Linked DNA regions of Homo sapiens: all the other regions are linked to region 1. Evidence: promoter capture Hi-C in human tissues and cell types (Jung and others, 2019). All regions are on one chromosome and are shown on one strand. Each heading gives the region's core, a stretch centred on a gene start or on the middle of the fragment in contact. The rest is flanking DNA. Distances are from core to core; before and after follow the strand shown.

What was found. The method cuts DNA at HindIII sites, captures the fragments that hold promoters and counts their contacts. A contact is called where the count stands out against the background at its distance.
Region 2: a fragment that was not itself captured here is called in contact with the fragment with the promoter of RAB40B in region 1 in 3 of the 25 tissues and cell types used here (dorsolateral prefrontal cortex, lymphoblastoid cells and spleen).
Region 3: a fragment that was not itself captured here is called in contact with the fragment with the promoter of RAB40B in region 1 in 1 of the 25 tissues and cell types used here (lymphoblastoid cells).
Region 4: a fragment that was not itself captured here is called in contact with the fragment with the promoter of RAB40B in region 1 in 1 of the 25 tissues and cell types used here (lymphoblastoid cells).
Region 5: a contact is called between the fragment with the promoter of UTS2R here and the fragment with the promoter of RAB40B in region 1, in 2 of the 25 tissues and cell types used here (bladder and dorsolateral prefrontal cortex).
Region 6: a contact is called between a fragment that was not itself captured here and the fragment with the promoter of RAB40B in region 1, in 2 of the 25 tissues and cell types used here (lymphoblastoid cells and spleen).
Region 7: a fragment that was not itself captured here is called in contact with the fragment with the promoter of RAB40B in region 1 in 1 of the 25 tissues and cell types used here (dorsolateral prefrontal cortex).

The regions. Positions count from the first base shown.
Region 1 is chr17:82,697,258-82,700,011 of GRCh38, reverse strand. It overlaps RAB40B (RAB40B, member RAS oncogene family), which reads left to right and starts at 1,314. Exons shown (of 6, transcript NM_006822.3): 1 at 1,314-1,557. The coding sequence starts at 1,416. RefSeq lists silencers at 746-1,135, 1,156-1,585. The HindIII fragment of the contact is 28,650 bases long and covers 1-2,754 here.
Region 2 is chr17:83,181,608-83,184,361 of GRCh38, reverse strand. The region is part of intron 2 of LOC101929650 (a long non-coding RNA gene); the gene reads right to left. Among named protein-coding and RNA genes, the nearest start is that of METRNL, 100 kb to the right of the region's middle. The HindIII fragment of the contact is 3,242 bases long and covers 1-2,754 here.
Region 3 is chr17:83,065,455-83,068,208 of GRCh38, reverse strand. No RefSeq gene overlaps it. Among named protein-coding and RNA genes, the nearest start is that of METRNL, 13 kb to the left of the region's middle. The HindIII fragment of the contact is 5,163 bases long and covers 1-2,754 here.
Region 4 is chr17:83,043,920-83,046,673 of GRCh38, reverse strand. All of the region lies in intron 3 of QTGAL (queuosine-tRNA galactosyltransferase), which reads left to right. Among named protein-coding and RNA genes, the nearest start is that of QTGAL, 6.5 kb to the left of the region's middle. The HindIII fragment of the contact is 5,650 bases long and covers 1-2,754 here.
Region 5 is chr17:82,370,395-82,373,148 of GRCh38, reverse strand. It overlaps UTS2R (urotensin 2 receptor), which reads right to left and starts at 1,384. Exons shown (of 3, transcript NM_018949.3): 1 at 1,102-1,384; 2 at 366-551. The HindIII fragment of the contact is 34,629 bases long and covers 1-2,754 here.
Region 6 is chr17:83,000,856-83,003,609 of GRCh38, reverse strand. All of the region lies in intron 6 of QTGAL (queuosine-tRNA galactosyltransferase), which reads left to right. Among named protein-coding and RNA genes, the nearest start is that of QTGAL, 50 kb to the left of the region's middle. The HindIII fragment of the contact is 7,803 bases long and covers 1-2,754 here.
Region 7 is chr17:82,428,961-82,431,714 of GRCh38, reverse strand. All of the region lies in intron 4 of HEXD (hexosaminidase D), which reads right to left. LOC124904091 (a long non-coding RNA gene) reads left to right here and starts at 1,303. Exons shown (of 3, transcript XR_007065958.1): 1 at 1,303-2,281. The HindIII fragment of the contact is 5,064 bases long and covers 1-2,754 here.

The DNA of each region.
Region 1 (2,754 bases), core at 65-2,564:
AATTCTTCTTCCGCTCCCTCTTCTGTTCCTCCCCCACAAAAAACTTCTAATGGGGTCTAGAGCAGTTCCCTACACAACGCAGGGTGGAGGGGATGAAGTAGTGGGGGCATTATCCTTCTTCTTGGACGGAGCTCGCCCTTTGCCTGCTGCCTGAATTCTGCACCAAATAAACCAATGTGCACCTGGTGAGACCCTCAGAGCGAAGGGCAGACCTCGGCCTGGCAACCCTTGCTCTCTAGAGCAGAGGAGAAGCCAAAAGGCTGGAGGGTCCCACCCAATGCTCTCCTCCAGCACGCACGCAAACACATGCATGGATGCACAAACAAGCGCACGCACACATAGGAGCGCATGCATAGAAGCAGCACACGCAGACACACACATGCAAAGATGCCTGCAAAGGCACACATGCACACGCACATACATGTGCAGACACCTGCAGAGGCACACATGCACACGCAGACACACAGATGTGCAGACATCTGCAGAGGGACACATGCACACGCACATACATGTGCAGACACCTGCAGAGGGACACATGCACACGCAGACACATAGATGTGCAGACACCTGCAGAGGGACACATGCACACGCAGACACATACATGTGCAGATATCTGCAGAGGCACACATGCACACGCAGACATGCACACACACGAACACATGCACACGTACACAGGCGCATGTGCACACACAGGCATTCAGGCACGCCGCGTAAATGGGGCAACGACGAGGCCCTGGATGAACCGTGGGGAGAGACCGCGAGCCTGGATTCTACGGCGACAGGGACTCCTCCGGCGAGGCGGCCTGCGGGGGCCTTCCGGCCGCGTCCGCCAACTGGACCGACCCCGAGCCCCACCCGGCCAGGCACCCGAGGTCTCCCTGGTGGGCAGGTGGGGAGGCCCCACGCTGGGACCCTGCACCGCCCCTCGCCCCTCCCGACTCGGGGCGTGCAGACCCGACGACCGTGGGAGCGAGTTCGTGGCGCTCACGGGCGCACGCGAGAGTGTAAACACCCGGCCCCACCCCCTGATCGCCCCCACCCCGCCCCGCCATTGGCTGCGGGAGCAGAGTCCCCGCCTCCTGCTTGTTCTGGCTCCGCCCCTGCCCCGTCTCCGGGCCTCCATTGGCTGTGGTGACAGCGACCTTTCAGGAGGGGCGGGTGGGCGACAGCCCGGAGGCGGTGACGAGAGTAAGATGGACGGACAACCAAGCCAGTGAAAGCGCGCAGCTGCCCTAGCAACTGCGGTCCACCAATGGCGGGGCCGGGCGGGGATGCGCGCTGTCAGCGCTGGGCGGCGGGGCGGGGCCGGAGGCGAGCAAGGACTCGGGGCCCGCGCGGCGCCTCTCGGGGCCGGGCCGCCGCCTCTGCGCTCAGCCCCGCAGGCCGGGCATGGGTGGGGGCGCCGGGCCGTCACGATGAGCGCCCTGGGCAGCCCGGTCCGGGCCTACGACTTTCTGCTCAAGTTCCTGCTGGTGGGCGACAGCGACGTGGGCAAGGGCGAGATCCTGGCGAGCCTGCAGGATGGCGCGGCCGAGTCCCCGTACGGCCACCCGGCGGGTGAGCGCGGGCGGAGGGCGTGCCGGGGTGCGGGCGCGGGGCCGGGGAGGGGCGCGGGGCTGGGGAGGGGGTGCGGGTGGGGGTCCGGGTCCGGGGACGCGAGACCGGGCAGGGGTCGGGAAGAGGCCGGGGCGCGTGGCCGGGGAGGGTAGGAGTCCCGGTCCGGGGGCGCGGGGCTGAGGAGGAGCGCGGTTCGCGGGCGGGCCTTTCTCCGCCCGGCCCTGGCCCTCGTGCTGCGGCGTCCCTGTTGCACCCCCAGTTCCACTCGAGGCCCCGCGGCGCAGTCTCCATCCTTCTCCGCAGTCTGCGCGCAGCGGGAGCCCGCGGCTGGGCCGGGCGCTGGGCTCCTCCCGACCTGGGGCCGCTGCTGTGGGGACCCGGGGCGGGGGCTCGAGTCCGCAAGTGCGCGTTCGGCCGCGGGGCAGGAGGGGCGGGAGGGGACGCGAGCTCCGGGGCTCCTGGGGCGGAGCGCGGCGAGCAGGCGCCCAGGTGCTGGGTCTGCGCGTGGGTCGGAGGGGAGGGGAGACCAGGGTCCGGTCCCGAGGCCAGGGGTCCCGCGTGTCCGGGGGAGAGGAAGGAGCACAGGTGACTCGCGTGCGGAAGAGGGGACCCCCCACGACAGCGGCCGGAGAGCGGGTTCCAGGGCGAGGGGAGGCCGGAGCGCCCAGAGCTCCCAGGCAGGCAGCCCGGGGATCCCCCAAGTTTGAGGCTTGAAAGCCGGCGCCCGGCGAGGGGGTGGACGGCTCCGGGGAAAGAAAGGCGGGGGCAGGAACCCAGGAGAAGGGGGAACGCGCAGAGGCGAACACCTCGGCTGGGAGTGAGGAGCAGGCGGGGCCTTCACCCACGCGCATCCCTGGAACAGCTTGGACGAGGCCGACCCTGAGGCTGTGGAAGGAGCCCAGCCTGTGCCCACCTTCCTGCCGCGCCTCGGGGCTGAACCCACGCTTCCAACAGAGACCCGCTCTGAGTCCTGGGCGGAGGAGGGCAGCCGGGCGTGGAGATGGAGTCTTGGTGGGAAGGACCTGTCAGCTCTGGGGCCTGGGAAGGGTCTGGGAAGCCCCAGGTCCAGGGTCCTGCCAGAGACGAACTTAGCGGGAGAGGGTGGGAGGAAGCGGGATCTGAGGCTGCTCGGTAGAGGGTGCAGGCTGTCCCCTAAGGGCAGCTCCAGGCAGGCGGCGTGAGCACCAAGGGAGTGTG
Region 2 (2,754 bases), core at 98-2,597, 480 kb before region 1:
TGTTTTCAGTAGTTGGAACAGCCCCATAGCAGCCGCTGAGTCTGCCATCCTGTTATGAAGGAAATACGCTGAGGGAAAGGGGGTATGAGGCTGGCGCAGACAATAAACAGAGGTGTGCCAACCGGGAAACACAACACACAGGGAGGCTGCAGTCATCACCCGCAGACACCAACATCCCTGCCCTGAACTAACCTTCCCCGCGTCTCGATTCTCTGCCAACAGCGTTTTTACTTCAAACCAGCAGAGCCAGGTCACCCGCATCAGGAAGGGCAGAAGGTCATCCAGCCTGGACCTGGGGCCCTTCACCCCCACTCCTGTGAGGAGGCCTTCTGTGGCCTCAGCCCCCAGGGCCCTGCCAAGAACCTGCCATCCTGGACATTTGCTCAGCCTGCCTGGGAAACAGAGCTCATCCTGCGTGGCCAGCAACAGAGAAGCTGGGATTTGGAGCTAGATCAGGTCTAAATCTTGGCTCTGCCACTTCCTGTGTGGCCCTGGACTTCCCTGAGTCTCGATATACATGTATGTGAACCCGAAACACAACCACTGCAATCTTGAGGTGTTGTGGAGTGGTTGAGAGGTGTGCACATTCTCTAAAAGACCACTTGAGCAATAGCTGGTTCTTTGAAAGTCTTGCTGGGACAACAGAGGAAGAGCAGGGGAAGGAGGGGGCTGACGACGAGGACGATGACAGGATTATAAGGAACCAAGACCGCTGCCGGCAAACCCCCTGCTCCATAAATGTGCAAGGCAGCACGGGTAGGAAGCGTCACACACAACCCCGGCCAGAGCCAGGCGACACGCCGAGAAACCCTAACACGACAGTGGCATTGTCGGAAACTGATTTACTTTGTTCAAAAAAAATGCGATAATCTTGGAAAACTAGCAAAATCCCAAGTGTGACTTGAAGACAAAGCACAGGCACTCCAGGGATCAAACCAAGAAGAAACACGGTGAGGGGTTTACATTCTGGAATGCATTGGAAGCAGCCCAGTTTCATCACCTCCGATGGCCAACGGCGGCACAGATGGTCTGCGTGAAGAAACACGAGCCCTGCTGTCTCGGGCGTCGGTGCCTTTGTGGCAGCACTGGCATCTCTCTTTCCTCAAAGTTTAAATTCTGTTTTGATGTCAGCAACACGTCAACACTCATATTCTAGGGAGCAAATTTCTCCTTCTGCTCCTTATGGCTAATGCAAAAGTAAACGCCAATTTACTTTTGTCTAAATTATTGAAAATTCAAGTGGAATCACATAGGATTCAGATAAATAGGATTTTCCTGTTTTTGCTGTCGTCTTCTTAAAATGGCACATAAGCTTCCCTCCCCCTCCACTCACCCCGTGACTTCCTTCTGGTCCACACCCTCCCTCAGGGCCCAGCATCTTCTCAGAGGGTGTAGAAACTCGAACTTTCACAAAACACAGAGGCCAGCCCGGCCCTGTCCTGAGCCGGTCTCATTATTTCCTGTCTGCGGACAGGCCCAGACCTCAAGGAGACTACACACTGTGAGACTGTCTTTGCCACAGGCTACCCTGGCCCAAGGTGGAGGAGCAAAGCCACCCCACAGGCCTCCCAGACATACCCCAACCGCAGCTGGAGGTGAGCGTCTCTCTGCCTGGACCTGCTGTGCTCATCAAATCGACGGCAGCCTGCACGGACCACAGGGGCTTGTGAGTTCCTGACGCTGCCCCGCCAGTTACTTTAGCCAGGGCGTTTGCCCTCCTGTGGAAGTTCAATGTCTTCATGTAAAACAAAGGCAATTGATACCTCCAGGGCCCTGGCACTCCAGCTGTCTGTCTCTGGTGACTGGACCTTCTCTGGATAGCTGCACAGGACCTGGTTCTCCGGGCCATCTGGGACCCTCTGTGCTAGGCCCTAACTTCCAGAAGGCTCAGTCACACTTATTCCCCTTCTCACACACGAGCAGTGAGTCTGTGTGCACGTGGGAGAGCTCCGCTGGGTCCTGGTGCTAAGCTCTCTGGTGGGTGCTGCAAGGTTGTCCGAGCTCTCCAGGTCGCCCCTCCAAGGTGGCTGACAAACATAAGTTCTGTCCCAACCATGGCTCCTGAGTGCCTGTTGTCTACCCCTCACCCATCCCAGCAAACAGCAGCCACTCAGCAAGCCCTTCCTGGAGGGATCCACATCCTGAAATGGCCCCCCAGTGTGGGAAAAGCCCAGAGCGCCACGCTGACACCCGGAGCCCAGGGCCGACAGTGGCAGCTTCTGCTGGGGGTCATGTGGGTCAGGGCACTGCTCCCCACCCTCAGGTGATGCCCGAATGCCCTCCAGGAATGACACAGAGGTGGCATCTGGGTGGTGGACATACACCCCCAGGTGTGGAATACAGGCCCATCCCCGCTGTACCCCCCGGGTGTGGAAAGCCAGGCCCATCCCCCCTGCACCCCCCCAGGCGTGGAAAGCCAGGCCCATCCCCCCTGCACCCCCCAGGCGTGGAAAGCCAGGCCCATCCCCCCTGCACCCCCCAGGCGTGGAAAGCCAGGCCCATCCCCCCTGCACCCCCCAGGCGTGGAAAGCCAGGCCCATCCCCCCTGCACCCCCCAGGCGTGGAAAGCCAGGCCCATCCCCCCTGCACCCCCCAGGCGTGGAAAGCCAGGCCCATCCCCCCTGCACCCCCCAGGCGTGGAAAGCCAGGCCCATCCCCCCTGCACCCCCCAGGCGTGGAAAGCCAGGCCCATCCCCCCTGCACCCCCCAGGCGTGGAAAGCCAGGCCCATCCCCCCTGCACCCCCCAGGCGTGG
Region 3 (2,754 bases), core at 175-2,674, 370 kb before region 1:
CCCCCGCTGCCGCCCCCCGCTGTCGCCTCCCGGGACCCCCGCTGTCGCCCCCGCTGTCGCCTCCTGCAGGTGGGATTTCGGGAGGTTCTTGGGTCATTCTCATCCCCGTGGAGGCTCAGGCTTCATTCCTTTAGCGAAACCTCATGTGTTTCCCGCACTTCCAAAAACGTCCAGCTGGAAGCCCTGAACTTCAGAAAGCAAAAGCAACTGAGTTTTCCCTGCACAGCCTGTGGCTCTCCCGGCCGGAAAGCACTTGTGTCACCCAAATGCCTGGGTCCTGGGCTGACCGTCCTAGTCTTTTGGAATCTAAGCTGAGCTGACTTAACCTAAATCCCTCCTTCCCAGAAGGGCTAAAGTGATCCTTTTCGTAGCTCCGCTAAGAGGCCTTTATCTGTGGCCCGGCTCATCCCAGAGGGGACGGGAGGGGTTGAGGTGAATGCCTGCAGGGTAACAAGATAAAGCACAGTGTAAGATGAGTGTGACACAAGGGGACAGGTCAGGCCCGGTCAGTGTGACACGAGGGGACAGGTCAGGCCCGGTCAGTGTTGCCACAGGGGCCACGAGGGGGGGCTTCAGGTGGGTTCCCCAGGACCCCCAGGACTCCGCACCTAGGCCAGAGCTCCGGACGGCCAGCAAAGCCAGCGAGACCTGATGCCTCAGGGCCTGCAGTGTCCAGTGCATGGAAATGGCCTTGGGAGGAGAGGCGGGTCCCGAGAGAACCCCAGGCTCTCCCCCAGGCGCAGGCACCCACACCACCTGGGCAGGCGAGGCCGAGCCTCCCCCCGCAGTTCCTCAGGACCTTCCTCTTGCCAACAGGAGCCCAGCGTGGAATCCCGCAAAGGAAACAGACAATGGGTCCGTGTCCACACCATGGCCACCAGAGCGCAGGTGTCACCTCCCCTTGAAACCCACAGCTGGTATCTTCACCATCGCCTCCTTCACAGGCAGAAAACAGACGCGGAGAGGCCAGCTCTCTCCCGGAGGCCGCGCGGCAGACAGGGGGCCGGATCCTACCCAGCGGGTCTCTCGGGTCCCTAGGGGGTAGTCCCCAGGCACCCAGACCTGCCTTGAGAAGAGTGTCTGTCTTGCCACAGCCTTCCCTGAGAGGCCCTGCGTGGCCCCAGGTAAGAACATGCACCGTCCCTCCAGGACTCAGGGTGAGGGTGCAGAGGGCGGGCAGCCGTGCCCAGGGTGAAGCCGTGGCCCCGGGTGAGAACACGCACTGTCCCTCCAGGACTCAGGGTGAGGGTGCAGAGGGCGGGCAGCCGTGCCCAGGGTGAAGCTGTGGCCCCGGGTGAGAACACGCACTGTCCCTCCAGGACGCACAGTGAGTGTGCAGGGGGCGGGCAGCCGTGCCCAGGGTGAAGCCGTGGCCCCGGGTGAGAACACGCACTGTCCCTCCAGGACTCAGGGTGAGGGTGCAGAGGGCGGGCAGCCGTGCCCAGGGTGAAGCCGTGGCCCCGGGTGAGAACACGCACTGTCCCTCCAGGACGCACAGTGAGTGTGCAGGGGGCGGGCAGCCGCGCCCATGGTGAAGCCCGGTGAGGCAGCCTGAGGCTGAGAAACACAGTTTCTTATGACAAAAGAAATTCACTTTCATGACAGAAAATGCGGATGAACACAGAGAACGACGTAAGAGTATCCTGAAACCTGCAGGAGGTAACAGCAGGGGTGGCATTTGGGGTGTCCTCCAGGGCGCAGGACTCTTGAGGGGATGGCTGGCTCGGACCCGGGGTGCTCCTCCAGCCGGACACGGGCCCAGGAAGCCCGCACTGTGGGGCTGAGTGGAAACTGCATCTGCGTGGCGGGCACGGCACGGTGTCTGCGATCTGGAGCTCTTCAGGGAAGGCCAGCCTGCGGCGGCGATGACGATGACAGATGGCGAGGGTCCGAGAGCCTCGTTACCCCACAGTGACCCGAGACGTTCGGGACCAGGAAACTTCCCGAAGGTCGGCCAACCCGAAAGTGGCCAGGGCCTCCAGGCACCAGGTAACAGAATAAGAAATATACATTTGGCCTCTGCCCTGGTTCCCCACACCAGCTCCGAAATCGCTTGGTATTTCCTGGGTGCTAGGAGCGTTTTTTTGTTCAAGGAGGTGACTCTTGGGGGCCCCTAGACAGCTTCAGGATGGGGTACGCTCACCGGGAAGACCAAACATCAATTAGAAGCTTGGAACTTTCAGTCCCACCGGCCTCCAGGGAGGGGAGAAGGGCTGAGATTGAATAACGATCCATTGGTCATGCCTGCCGGCTTCCATTAAACCCTTTAACAGATAGAATCCGGGAGCTTCTGGACTGGGGAACGCATGGGAGTGTGGGGGGTGGACAGAAACTCCTGCACTTGGGTCCTTCCTGGACCCCGCCCTGTGCACCTTGTTATCTGGTTGTCCATCTGTATCCTTTATTACATCTTTTATAGTGAATCAGTGAACGTAAATGAGTTTTTCCCTGAGTCCTGTGAGACTTAGAGCAAATTATCAAGCCTGGGGAGGAGTCGTGGCAACCCCCAACTTTGTAGCCAAGTCAGACGGAGGCGTGTGAACCCTGGGCACCCGATACTTGGGACGGTCGCCTGCAGAGGGGCAGCTTGTGGGACGGAGCCCCAGCCTGCGGGGTCTGCGCTACCTGCAGGTAGTGTGAGAGTCGAACTGAATCGTGGGACACCCCGTTGGTGTCCACTGAGAACTGGAAAGTTGCTTGGTGTGAAAATCCCGCACATTTGGTGCAAAGTGTTTAGAGTGTAGAGAAACAGAT
Region 4 (2,754 bases), core at 255-2,754, 350 kb before region 1:
TGAGGAGCTGCCAAACTTTTCCACAGTGGATGCATTTTACATTCCTACCAGCAATGTATGAACGTTCCAATTTCTACATATCCTCATCAACACTTGTTATTTTCTGTTTTTTAAATTATAGCCATGCTAGTGGGTGTGAAGTGGTGTCTCACTGTGGTTTCCATTTGAATGTCCTTGTTGACTAAAGATGTTGTGCCTCTTTTCGTGTGCTTGTTGGCCATTTATATATCTTCCTTGGGCCAGGCATGGTGACTCACGCCTCTAATCCCGGCACTTCGGGAGGCCGAGACGGGTGGACCACCTGAGGTCAGGAGTTTGAGACCAGCCTGGCCAACATGGTGAAACCCCATCTCTACTAAAAATACCACAAAAAAAAATTAGCCAGGTGTGGTGGCATGCACCTGTAATCTCAGCCACTTGGGAGGCTGAGGCAGGAGAATCGCTTGAACCCGGGAGGCAGAGGTTGCAGTGAGCCGAGATGGTGCCACTGTACTTCAGCCTGGGTGACAGAGTGAGACTCCATCTCAAAATAAATAATAAAAAATAAATGGGCCGGGTTTGGTGGGTCATGCCTGTTATCCCAGCACTTTGGGAGGCCAAGGCGGGTGGATCACCAGAGGTCAGGAGTTCAAGACCAAGCTGCCCAACATGGTGAAACCCCGTCTCTACTAAAAATACAAAAATTAGCTTGGAGTAGTGGCAGCGGCCTTTAATCCCAGCTACTCAGGAGGCTGAGACAGAAGAATTGCTTGAACCCGGGAGGCAGAGATCGCGATCTCTGCTGTGAGCCGAGATCGTACCATTGGACTCCAGCCTGGCAACAAGAGCAAAACTCCGTCTCAAAAAATAATAAATAAATAAATAAATGTATATCTTCCTTGAAGAAATGTTTATTCAAGTATTTTGGCCATTTTAAAAATTGAGCTGTATGTGTTTTCATTGTTGAATTGTAAGAGCTCCTTATATGTTCTGGACACTAGAGCTTTATTATATATAATTTGCAATTTTTTTCCCGTTCTTTGGGTTATCTTTTCACCCTCTCGAGAGTGTCCCTTGATGCACAAAAGGCTTATGATTTTGATGAAGACAAAAATCTAATTTATCTATTATTTCTTTTGTGGCGTGTGCTTTTGGTGTCATTTCTAAGAAGCCACGGCTAAATCAAGGTCACGAAGATTTTATCTGTATGTTTTCTTCAGAATTATACTTGTAGCTCTTATATTTAGGCCTTTGATCTATTTTGACTTAATTTTTATGTATGGTGTGAAGCAAAGGTCCAGCTTCATTCTTTTGTAAGTAGATACTCAGTTTTTCCAACACCATTTAAAAGACTATTCTTTCTCCACTGAATTGTCTTGGTATTCTTGTCAAAAATCCATTAACCATAAACGTATGGATTCATTCCTGGACTCCAGATTCTATTCCGTTGGTCTATATGTCTGTCCTTACGCCAGTACCTCATTGTTTTGATTACTTGAGCTTTGTGATAAGTTTTGTGAATTGTTTTCTTAATTTTCTTTGAGAGTGCTCATTTCTAGGGGATAAACAACAGATTTCTCTTAGTGTTGACCTTGTATCCTACAATTATTAGCTCTAATAGTTTATTAGCTTTAATAGTTTGTTCTTTGTGGGTTTTTAGGATTTCCTGTATTTAAGATCATATTATCTATGAGTAGAGATAGTTTTGCTTCTCCTTTTACAATTTAGATTCTTTCTTTTTTTTTTTTTGAGACAGAGTCTCACTGTGTCATCCAGGCTGGAGTGCAGTGGCACGATCTCAGCTCACTGCAAGCTCCGCCACCTGGGTTCAAGCAATTCTCATGTCTCAGCCTCCCGAGCAGCTGGGTCTACAGGCGTGCGCCACCACAACCAGCTAATTTTTTTGTATTTCTAGTAGAGACGGGGTTTCGCCATGTTGGCCAGGCTGGTCTCAAACTCCTGACCTCAGGTGATCCGCCTGCCTTGGCCTCCCAAAATGCTGGGATGACAGGCGTGAGCCGCCGCGCCTGGCTTTTATCTTTCTTCATCGCTCTGGTTGGTGCTTCCAGGACGGTGCCGAATAGAAGTGGTGAAAGTGGGCATCCTCGCTTCGGTTCTCCCAAGCAATTGTAGGGGAAAAGCTTTCAGTCTTTCACCTTTGAATATGACGTTAGCTGTAGGTTTTTATAAATGCCATTTCTTACGCTAAGGAGGTTTCCTTTTAATTCTAGTCTGTTGAATTTTTAAATCATGAAAGGGTGCCGGATTTTGTCAAATGCCTTTTTGACACCAATTTGAGATGATCATATAGTTTTTTCCCCTTTATCTGTTAAGATGGTATGTTACGTTGATTGATATCCTATGTTGAACTGCCCTCACATTATTGGGATAAATCCCACTTGTTCCTGGTGTAAAATCTTTCTAGTATACTGCTGGATTCAGTTTGCTAGTATGTTGTTGAAGATTTTTGCATATATATATTTGTAAGGGCTATTGGCCTGTAGGTTCCTATTCATATGATATCTTTGTGTGGCTTCGGTATCAGAGTAATACTGGCCTCATAGAATAAGTGTTTCTTCCTCTTGTTTTTTGGAAGAGTTTGGGAAGGATTGGTGTTAGTAATTCTCTGAGTTTGGTGGAATTCATCAGTGAGGTCACCTGACTCTGGGCTTTTTTGTTGGGAGTTTTTGTTTTTTTTATTACTGAGTCAATCTCTTTATTTGTTATAGGTGTGTTGAGATTTTTTTTATTTCTTCTTGAGTCAATTTTGGTAGT
Region 5 (2,754 bases), core at 135-2,634, 330 kb after region 1:
AGACAAAAAGCTGGTAAGAAAAATATAGGGAAGAACTGCAAATTAGTAAGGAAAAGACAAACAACCCATTTGAAAAAAAGAGACCAAAACCGTGACCGGGGACTTCCTGAAAAGGACACCCACGCAGCCAACAAGCAGGGAAATGCCAGTCAGGGCCACAGGAGCCCCTGCGTGCTGACAAGGATGAACGCGTGAAAAGGCAGATATCCTTGTCAACAGGCGTGGGGGCTGTGGAGGAGCTGGCCCTGCCGTTTCCTGTTGCTGGGAACCTGGACTGTGCCGCCGCTTTGGAAAGCCATTGGCACGATTTGCAGAGTTGACCGCCTATACCTTCTCACCCGGCAATTCTACTCTCAGGTTAGTACCTTAGATAAAGGGCTGCCAACGTTCAGAAAATGACAAGCGTGCGAAAGTTCACGGCAGCTTGACTCCTAAGAAGCTGGAAACAGCTCAAATGTCCCCAGTGGACGGGGCAGGCAAACTGTGACATGAAGCCAGTGAAGGAGTCGCCGCTGGGGTCAGCAGCCTGGATGAAACAGCGCGGTGGTGGGCTGAAGAAACAAGACACAGGAGGCTGCCTGATTCCACGAGCCACGCTGAATTTAGGCCGAACACTCATGGCTGCGCAGGGAGCAGTCTTGGCTGGGGTGGGGAGTTGTCAACAGGTGGGGGCGCTGGGGGCCTTCCAGGGCCTGGAAATGTGCCCTGTCCGCCCTTTCCCACCAGGCCGAGCAGCTCCCAGCTCCATCTGTCCAGGGGACCCTCACCCCCTTGCTGCCCCCACCCAGGGCATTTCCAGAGCCCTCACCCAGGGGACGGCGCAGAAGCCGAGGGTGCACCGGGCTCCCCAGTTGTGCGCGAGCCCGAGTCACGGGCAGGGGGACAGCGGCCGCCGGGCCGCTAGGATTGCTCCAGGGTCGCTAGGGGGGAAGGGGAGGGGCCGAAAGTTCCACGGCACGGGAGAAGCCGCCTCGCTGGACCCCGCTCCCCTCGCCCAGGGTGGGTTCCCACCGCGAAACCCCGGCCCAGCCCTGCGGAGGGCCCCGAAGGGCACAGACCCGGCAGTCCCCGCGCGCTCCCGGTCACCCACCGAGGACCCACCTGCCTCCGGTCACTGAGCGGCCAGACCTGCCCGCCGAGCCTGGGGTCGCGCGTGGGGGCAGCCGCTCGCGGCTCCAAACTCCTCGCGCAGCGGGGCCGCGGGGAACTTTCCGAGGCGCGCTCCCCTGTCCCAGCGCAGAGGGGGCGCGAGGGGCTCCGCGGTGGCCTCGGCTTCCAGAGCACACGGCAGGGGCGCCCGCCAGTCCCGCCACCAAAGCCGCGCCCCCCGCCCCGCGCCGGGTCTCTGCGCCGCCGCCACCTGCCCGCCGCCAGCTGGGAATGCGCCGCGCCCCGCGCCAGGGCCCGGTATTAAAATAACCCCAGCGGGCAGCAGGCGCGCGGAGGGGACGGCGCCGGGTGTCTAGGGGGCGGCGCTGACCGCGCGGCGCCGGGAAGACGCGGGGGTCGCGGGGCCGCAGCGGGGTCGGCGGAGGGTCCCAGGCGGGTCTCGCGTCTGCGTCTGCGGAGCGAAGCTGCCTCCAGCCCGGCTGCCCCAAGGCTGACCCCGCAGCCCCTCTTGGGTTCTCCGCCTCCAGCGTTCACCCCTGCGCCCCTCACGCCCGTGTTTGCAGGGCACGGAGCCTGGGATTCTCCGTGTCCACCAAGCCCTGGACCCGCCCGCGCGCAGGTGGGGGGCAGGAACACCCCTAAACCCCGAGAGGGTCATAGAAAGGAGGTAAGGGAGGGAGGGAGTCACCCGCCCAGGCGGGGACGGGCTCTTTGGGGGCCTTGACCCCGCCCCTGTTGCGGGTCTCCCACAGATGCTCTTAGAAGCCCACGCAGCCTCTCCAGGCCTCGGCAGGGACTCGTGGTGGCCACATCCACGGAAGTGACGCTGGGAGCTGCAGGGCCCCGCGGGGTAGGAGGAAGGACCCCACAGCCTCACCCTCGAGCCCCTGAGCTGGGTGCTGGCCCCCACTCGGTTTCACTTGCTGCTCGGAGGTAGGATGTGGGCCTTCACTCATGCTGAACCCCTGAAAGAAAAAGACACAGAACATTAATAAATTAGACTAGAGGAGAGCTGGAGAGCTGTGAACACGGGGTCTAAAGGGCCCCCAGCGAGGAGCTGGCCTCGCCCACTCCACTCCGCCCGGGGCTCATCTGCTGCCTGAGGCCGCGGACCGGCCCCTAAAGCTGAAGGGGTTCTGCTGGGGGAGAGGAGGTGGCCAAGTGTGAATGGCCGAGAGGCTCCTGCAATCAGCTGGATCCGGGGGAGCCCCAGATGCCCACCAGTCCCCTCCGTGGGACGTTTGCCACGTGCTGGGGAGGCGAGGCTGGGCTGGAGAGGGCGGGAAAAGTCCCTCTGGTCTCCGAGCGTCCGCTGGACGGAGCAAGGGTCACACAATAAGACAGTTCATTCTCTGTGAGCTGAAAACAGCCGAACTGAAACCAAATACAGCTGCAGCTTCCGACCCGAAAGGGGAGCAGCTCATCCTGCCTGTGCGCGGGAGGAAAGGGGGTGGAAGGCTGCCTCCGACGTGATGGTTCTGTGAGAGCTGATTACTAAGCTGGAGTCTAGGGGCTAGGGCTGGGGAAAAGCACTCAGGACCCAGAATGCCTGCTCCAAGAATTAAATTTCCCGCAAGCCAGCTGCCGAAACGATCTGCTGTCACCTCAGCCAGTTCACCGAGTAGCTGCTGAAACGACCTGCCC
Region 6 (2,754 bases), core at 110-2,609, 300 kb before region 1:
TCCCACACGCGGACTGCAGAGAGTGGGAGGGCGGGCTCAGGAATCCCACACGCGGACTGCAGAGAGTGGGAGGGCGGGCTCAGGAATCCCACACGCGGACTGCAGAGAGTGGGAGGGCGAGCTCAGGAATCCCACACGCGGAGGGCGGGAGGGCGGGCTCAGGAATCCCACACGCGGACTGCGGAGAGTGGGAGGGCGGGCTCAGGAATCCCACACGCGGACTGCAGAGAGTGGGAGGGCGAGCTCAGGAATCCCACACGCGGAGGGCGGGAGGGCGGGCTCAGGAATCCCACACGCGGACTGCGGAGGGCGGGAGGGCGGGCTCAGGAATCCCACACGCGGAGGGCGGGAGGGCGGGCTCAGGAATCCCACACGCGGACTGCAGAGAGTGGGAGGGCGGGCTCAGGAATCCCACACGCGGAGGGCGGGCTCAGGAATCCCACACGCGGACTGCAGAGAGTGGGAGGGCGAGCTCAGGAATCCCACACGCGGAGGGCGGGAGGGCGGGCTCAGGAATCCCACACGCGGACTGCGGAGAGTGGGAGGGCGGGCTCAGGAATCCCACACGCGGAGGGCGGGAGGGCGGGCTCAGGAATCCCACACGCGGAGGGCGGGAGGGCGGGCTCAGGAATCCCACACGCGGACTGCGGAGAGTGGGAGGGCGGGCTCAGGAATCCCACACGCGGAGGGCGGGAGGGCGGGCTCAGGAATCCCACACGCGGAGGGCGGGCTCAGGAATCCCACACGCGGACTGCAGAGAGTGGGAGGGCGGGCTCAGGAATCCCACAGCTAGTGTTTCAGCGTCTCCGTGTCCCGTGTGCCCCCAGCACGTTCCAAGAGCCAGGCTGCTGCATGCGATGTGGACAACAGGGTGTCCTCGGCAGTGGACTGTGCTTCTGTGAGACTGGACACGGGGCCGCCCGCGGTGCCGCCTCGGGTATGACTGGCTGCCGTCTGAGGGAGGGGACGTGGCCGTTGCCACATGGGTGGCTTGTCCCTGCCATCCTCTGTGGGGCCCTTGGCTGCCCCTGGGGGAGGCAGAGACCATCTTGTGGTCATGTCATGACAGCCCTTCCCTGTACGAGCTAGCGGCCGAGGGCGCGTGTCCTGGTGACTAGGCTGCACACTGTGAGTGAGTTGCTGTGCTTTTCAGTGAAGTTGTGAAAATACTTAAAACGGGAACTCAGGCAGACTGTGGCTACTTTTCTAAGTAACGTGCACCTCGTGCAAACCGGAATGCGGTTCGGCGTTGCCAAGCTGGTTCTGAACTGCAGCAGTCTGGACACATGTTGAGTTTCAGCCCAGCTCCAGACCGCGGTCAGAGCGCTGTCACCGAGAGCGGGTTCCCCGGAGGCCATGGCTGAGCTGCCCCGTGGGGGCAGGCTTTCTCCTGAGTGTTAGCTTTGATGCCCATAGAAGAGTTTTTTATTTTCATGTTTTTTAATTAAAATGAATCAATGTTCTTTTATCAGTTACATACTGTATTCACTTAAAACAATTTTAAAATAGACCTTCATGCCAGTATAGTGTGGGAAATTTAAAAAAAAAAAAAAGGCGCAGTGGCTCACGCCTATAATCCCAGCACTTTGAGAGGCTGAAGCAGGAGGATCACTTGAGCCTGGGGATTTAAGACCAGTCTGCGCAATATAGTGAGACCCTGTCTCTACGAAACATTATCTGGGTGTGGTGGTTCACACCTTTAGTCCCAGTTTCTCGGGAGGCTGAGGTGGGAGGATCACCTGAGCCCAGGAGGTCAAGGCCACCATGAGCCATGATTGTACCACTGCCCTCCAGCCTGGGCAACAGACCCTGTCTCAAAAAAAGAAAAAGAAAAACTTTATTGCATTTGTCAAAAGTTATGCTTCACTGTTTCATAAAGTCAAGCAATATAAAAAATTACAGAGAAAAAACGATGTTACTGCAAACCCACCACTTGTTCCTCTCAGATGTCTCTGTGTGCAGGTCACACACCCAGCACCTAGAGGGGCTCCCGTCCCCCACCCCGCCCGCCCCTCTGCTTTCTGTGACCATAGACTGGTTTACGTTTGCTGGAATTTTACGTAAATGGAGTCCTACACCCTGTGTTGACTTGAAGGATGCCGAAGTGTTCCTTCCTGGGACTTTCTGTTTCATAAAGTTCTGTTTTTCTCCTCCTTGTCCACTTTCTCATCTTCTTCCTTTTTTCTTCACAGTTTCTGGTTTGAATTGAGATCTAAAGAAGGTGCATACATTGCAGTTGTTGATAAATCCCTTTAAATATCCAGATTCCTCCGTCTTCCTTTTCCTTGACTATGTTGTGGACGATGTTGAATGATTTGCCATCGGTGCTTTCAGTAGTCCGACTTCTGCTGATTGCATCTCCCTGGTCTCATTTAACAGATTCCTCTGTCCCTGGAGTTCCTGCAAAGTAGTACTTAGAGCTAGAGGCTTTATGGGATTTACAGTGATTTGTCCATTTGTCTTGTTGATGTATACCTTTGTTGATGTATAGCTTTGTTGATGTATAACTGACATACAGCAAATGGCCCCTATTTCAAATGTACAGTTTGATCGGTTTTGACATGTGTCTGTACCCCAGTGACCCACCACAGTCAACACAGTGAACACATATATCCAACACCCCAAGTTTCCTCCTGTCCATCCCGGAGCCCTCCCCACACCATGCAACCATGACCCACTTTCTGCCTGCACAGCAGTTTTACATTTGCTGGAGGCTCAGGTAAATGCAGTCATGTGCTGTGTGCTTCACTGGTC
Region 7 (2,754 bases), core at 185-2,684, 270 kb after region 1:
CCGGGCATGGTGGCTCATGCCTGTAGTCCCAGCACTTTGGGAGGCCGAAGCGGGCAGATCACTTCAGGTCAGGAGTTCGACGAGATCAGTTTGGCCAACATGGCAAAACCCCGTCTCTACTAAGAAGACAAAAATTAGCTGGGTGTGGTGGCGGGCGCTGTAATCCCAGCTACTCGGGAGGCTGAAGCTACTTGGAATGTGGAGTTTGTAGTGAGCTGAGATCACGCCGCTGCACTCCAGCCTGGGTGACAGAGTGAAACTCTGTCTCAAAAAAAAAAAAAAAATTAGCACTTAGGGAGGCAGAGGCGGGAAGATCACCTGAGCCCAGAAGTTTGAGACCAGCCCAGCAACATAGTGAGACCCCACTCTTCACAAAAAGGAAAATGAACAAAAAAAATTAACTCAAAATGGGGCCAGGTGCAATGGCTCATGCCTATAATCCCAGCGCTCCGAGAGGCTGAGGTGGGAGAACTGTTTGAGGCCAGGGGTTCGAGACCAGTCTGGGCAACATAGTGGGACCTGGTATCTGCAAATAATAAAAAAAACTGGCCGGGTATGGTGGCACGCACCTGTGGTCCCTGCTACTCAGGAGGCTGAGGTGCTTGAGCCCAGAAGCTTGAGCCCAGAAGCTCAGGGCTGCAGTGAGCTGTGATTGTACCACGCGCTCCAGCCTGGGTGACAGAGTGAGTCTGTGACTCAAGACAAATAACTTGGATGTTCAAGGGTTCTGGAGAAAGAATAAAAATACCAAACTAAAAATGGATCATAGATCTAAATGAAAAATGCACAGAAGTTAAACTTTAGAAGAAAATACAAGAAAAATCTTTGTGATCTGGTGATCACAAAGAGTTTTTAGAAATGACACCAGAAGCATGTAGCTCTACACTGGGGGAGAATACCTGCAAATTACATACCATCAGAGGACTTGCATCTAGAACATATAAAGAACTTTAAAAACTCAAGTTGAAAAAAAAAATGGGCAAAACACCTGAGCAGTTATTTCTAGTATACCAAGAGGGTATACTGGGCTGGGCACCGTGGCTCACGCCTGTAATCCCAGTACTTTGAGAGGCCGACGCAGGCGGATCGCCTGAGGCCAGGAGTTTGAGACTAGCTTGGCCAACATCTTGAAACCTCATCTCTAATAAAAAGATAAAAAGTTAGCCGGGCATGGTGGGGTACACCTGTAATCTCAGGTGCTCAGGAGGCTGAGGCAGGAGAATCACTTGAACTCGGAAGCAGAGGTTGTAGTGAGCCAAGACTGCACCACTACACTCCAGCCTGGGAAACAGAGTGAGACCCTGTCTCAAAAACAAACACACAAAAAGGGTATACTAATAGTAAATGTACACATGGAGGGTCTTCCTCAGTAAGAAACCAACCCTTCGACACGCTGATTTTGGATGTCTGGTCTCCAGGGCTGAGAGAACATTTCTGTTGTCTTAAGCCACCTGGTTTGTGGCGATCACTTCTGCCCTGACAGCAGTGTCCTTTGAGGAGATGGCGAGTGTGAGTGGTCAGGGCTGTGCTGTGACTTGCTGTGGTGGGGAGAGGGGCACGGAGGGGCAGAGTGGCCCCGGGAGACCCATTAGGAAAGTTTCATGGTGAGTCCATAGTGGTTTAGACAGGGGTGGTGCCTGCATGACAGAGGAAGAGGAGGAGGAGCAGCAGCAGGACCAACATGGGTCAGGGCGTGGCGGGTGGTGGTGCTGACTGTGGCTGGTCTGCTTCTGGTTTGCACACCAGAGGCTGGAGGAGGGCCCTCAATGGAAGCGACCAGCAGGCAGCTGGGGATGAGGGTCTGTAACCCAGGAGGTCTGGAGTTGCTGAGGTGCAGACAGAAGAGGAAGAGGAAGACGAAGAGGAGGACAAAGAGAAAGCAGGAGCAGAAATGGCACCATCTAGAGAGAGAGTGGGAGGTGGGGACAGGGACCGAGAGGAGCCCTGGGGACCGCCAGCTACAGAGAGACAAATGCAAATGGATATCGAGGAGGTGCAGTCAGAGGCAGAGGGAAGCCAGAAAGTGTGGGGCTCAGGAGAGCGGCTGGGGATGCCAGAAGCTACCGAGGGGCCCAGCAGGAAAGGACTAAAACCGTCCCTGGACTTAGTGACCTGGAGGACCCTGGCGGCCTTGGCAGAGACATTCTGTGGATACGTGGCAGGAGGCTAAGAGCGCAGGCCGGGTCCCAGAGCAGAGTACGATGGAGAGAATCAACTAGAAAGGCTGGAGGACCGAGCTGTGGGAAGGAACTCCGGTGGCACGCCCAGAACACCGACATGTGTAAGTGAAAACAACCTTCTTACCCGCGGTGTGTGGAAATAGAAGCCAGAATGGTGTATCTGTTAGAGAAATAAATGGAACCTAAGAGCCATTAAATCGGTGTGGTGGTTAATGCCGCATCACTTCCTGTTTGATGCAGACAGGAAAAAGAATATGTGTATATATATATTTTTTGAGACGGAGTCTTGCTCTGTCACCCAGGCTGGAGTGCAGTGGTGCGATCTTGGCTCATGGCAACCTCTGCCTCCTGCGTTCAAGTGATTCTCCTGCCCCAGCCTCCCGAGCAGCTGGGACTACAGGTGCCCGCCACCATGCCTGGCTAATTTTTGTATTTTTAGTAGAGACGGGGTTTCGCCATGTTGGTCAGGCTGGTCTCGAACTCCTGACCTCAGGTGATCCACCAGCCTCGGCCTCCCAAAGTGCTGGGATTACTACTGGTGTGAGCCACCGCACCTGGCCTGAAAAGCACCTTT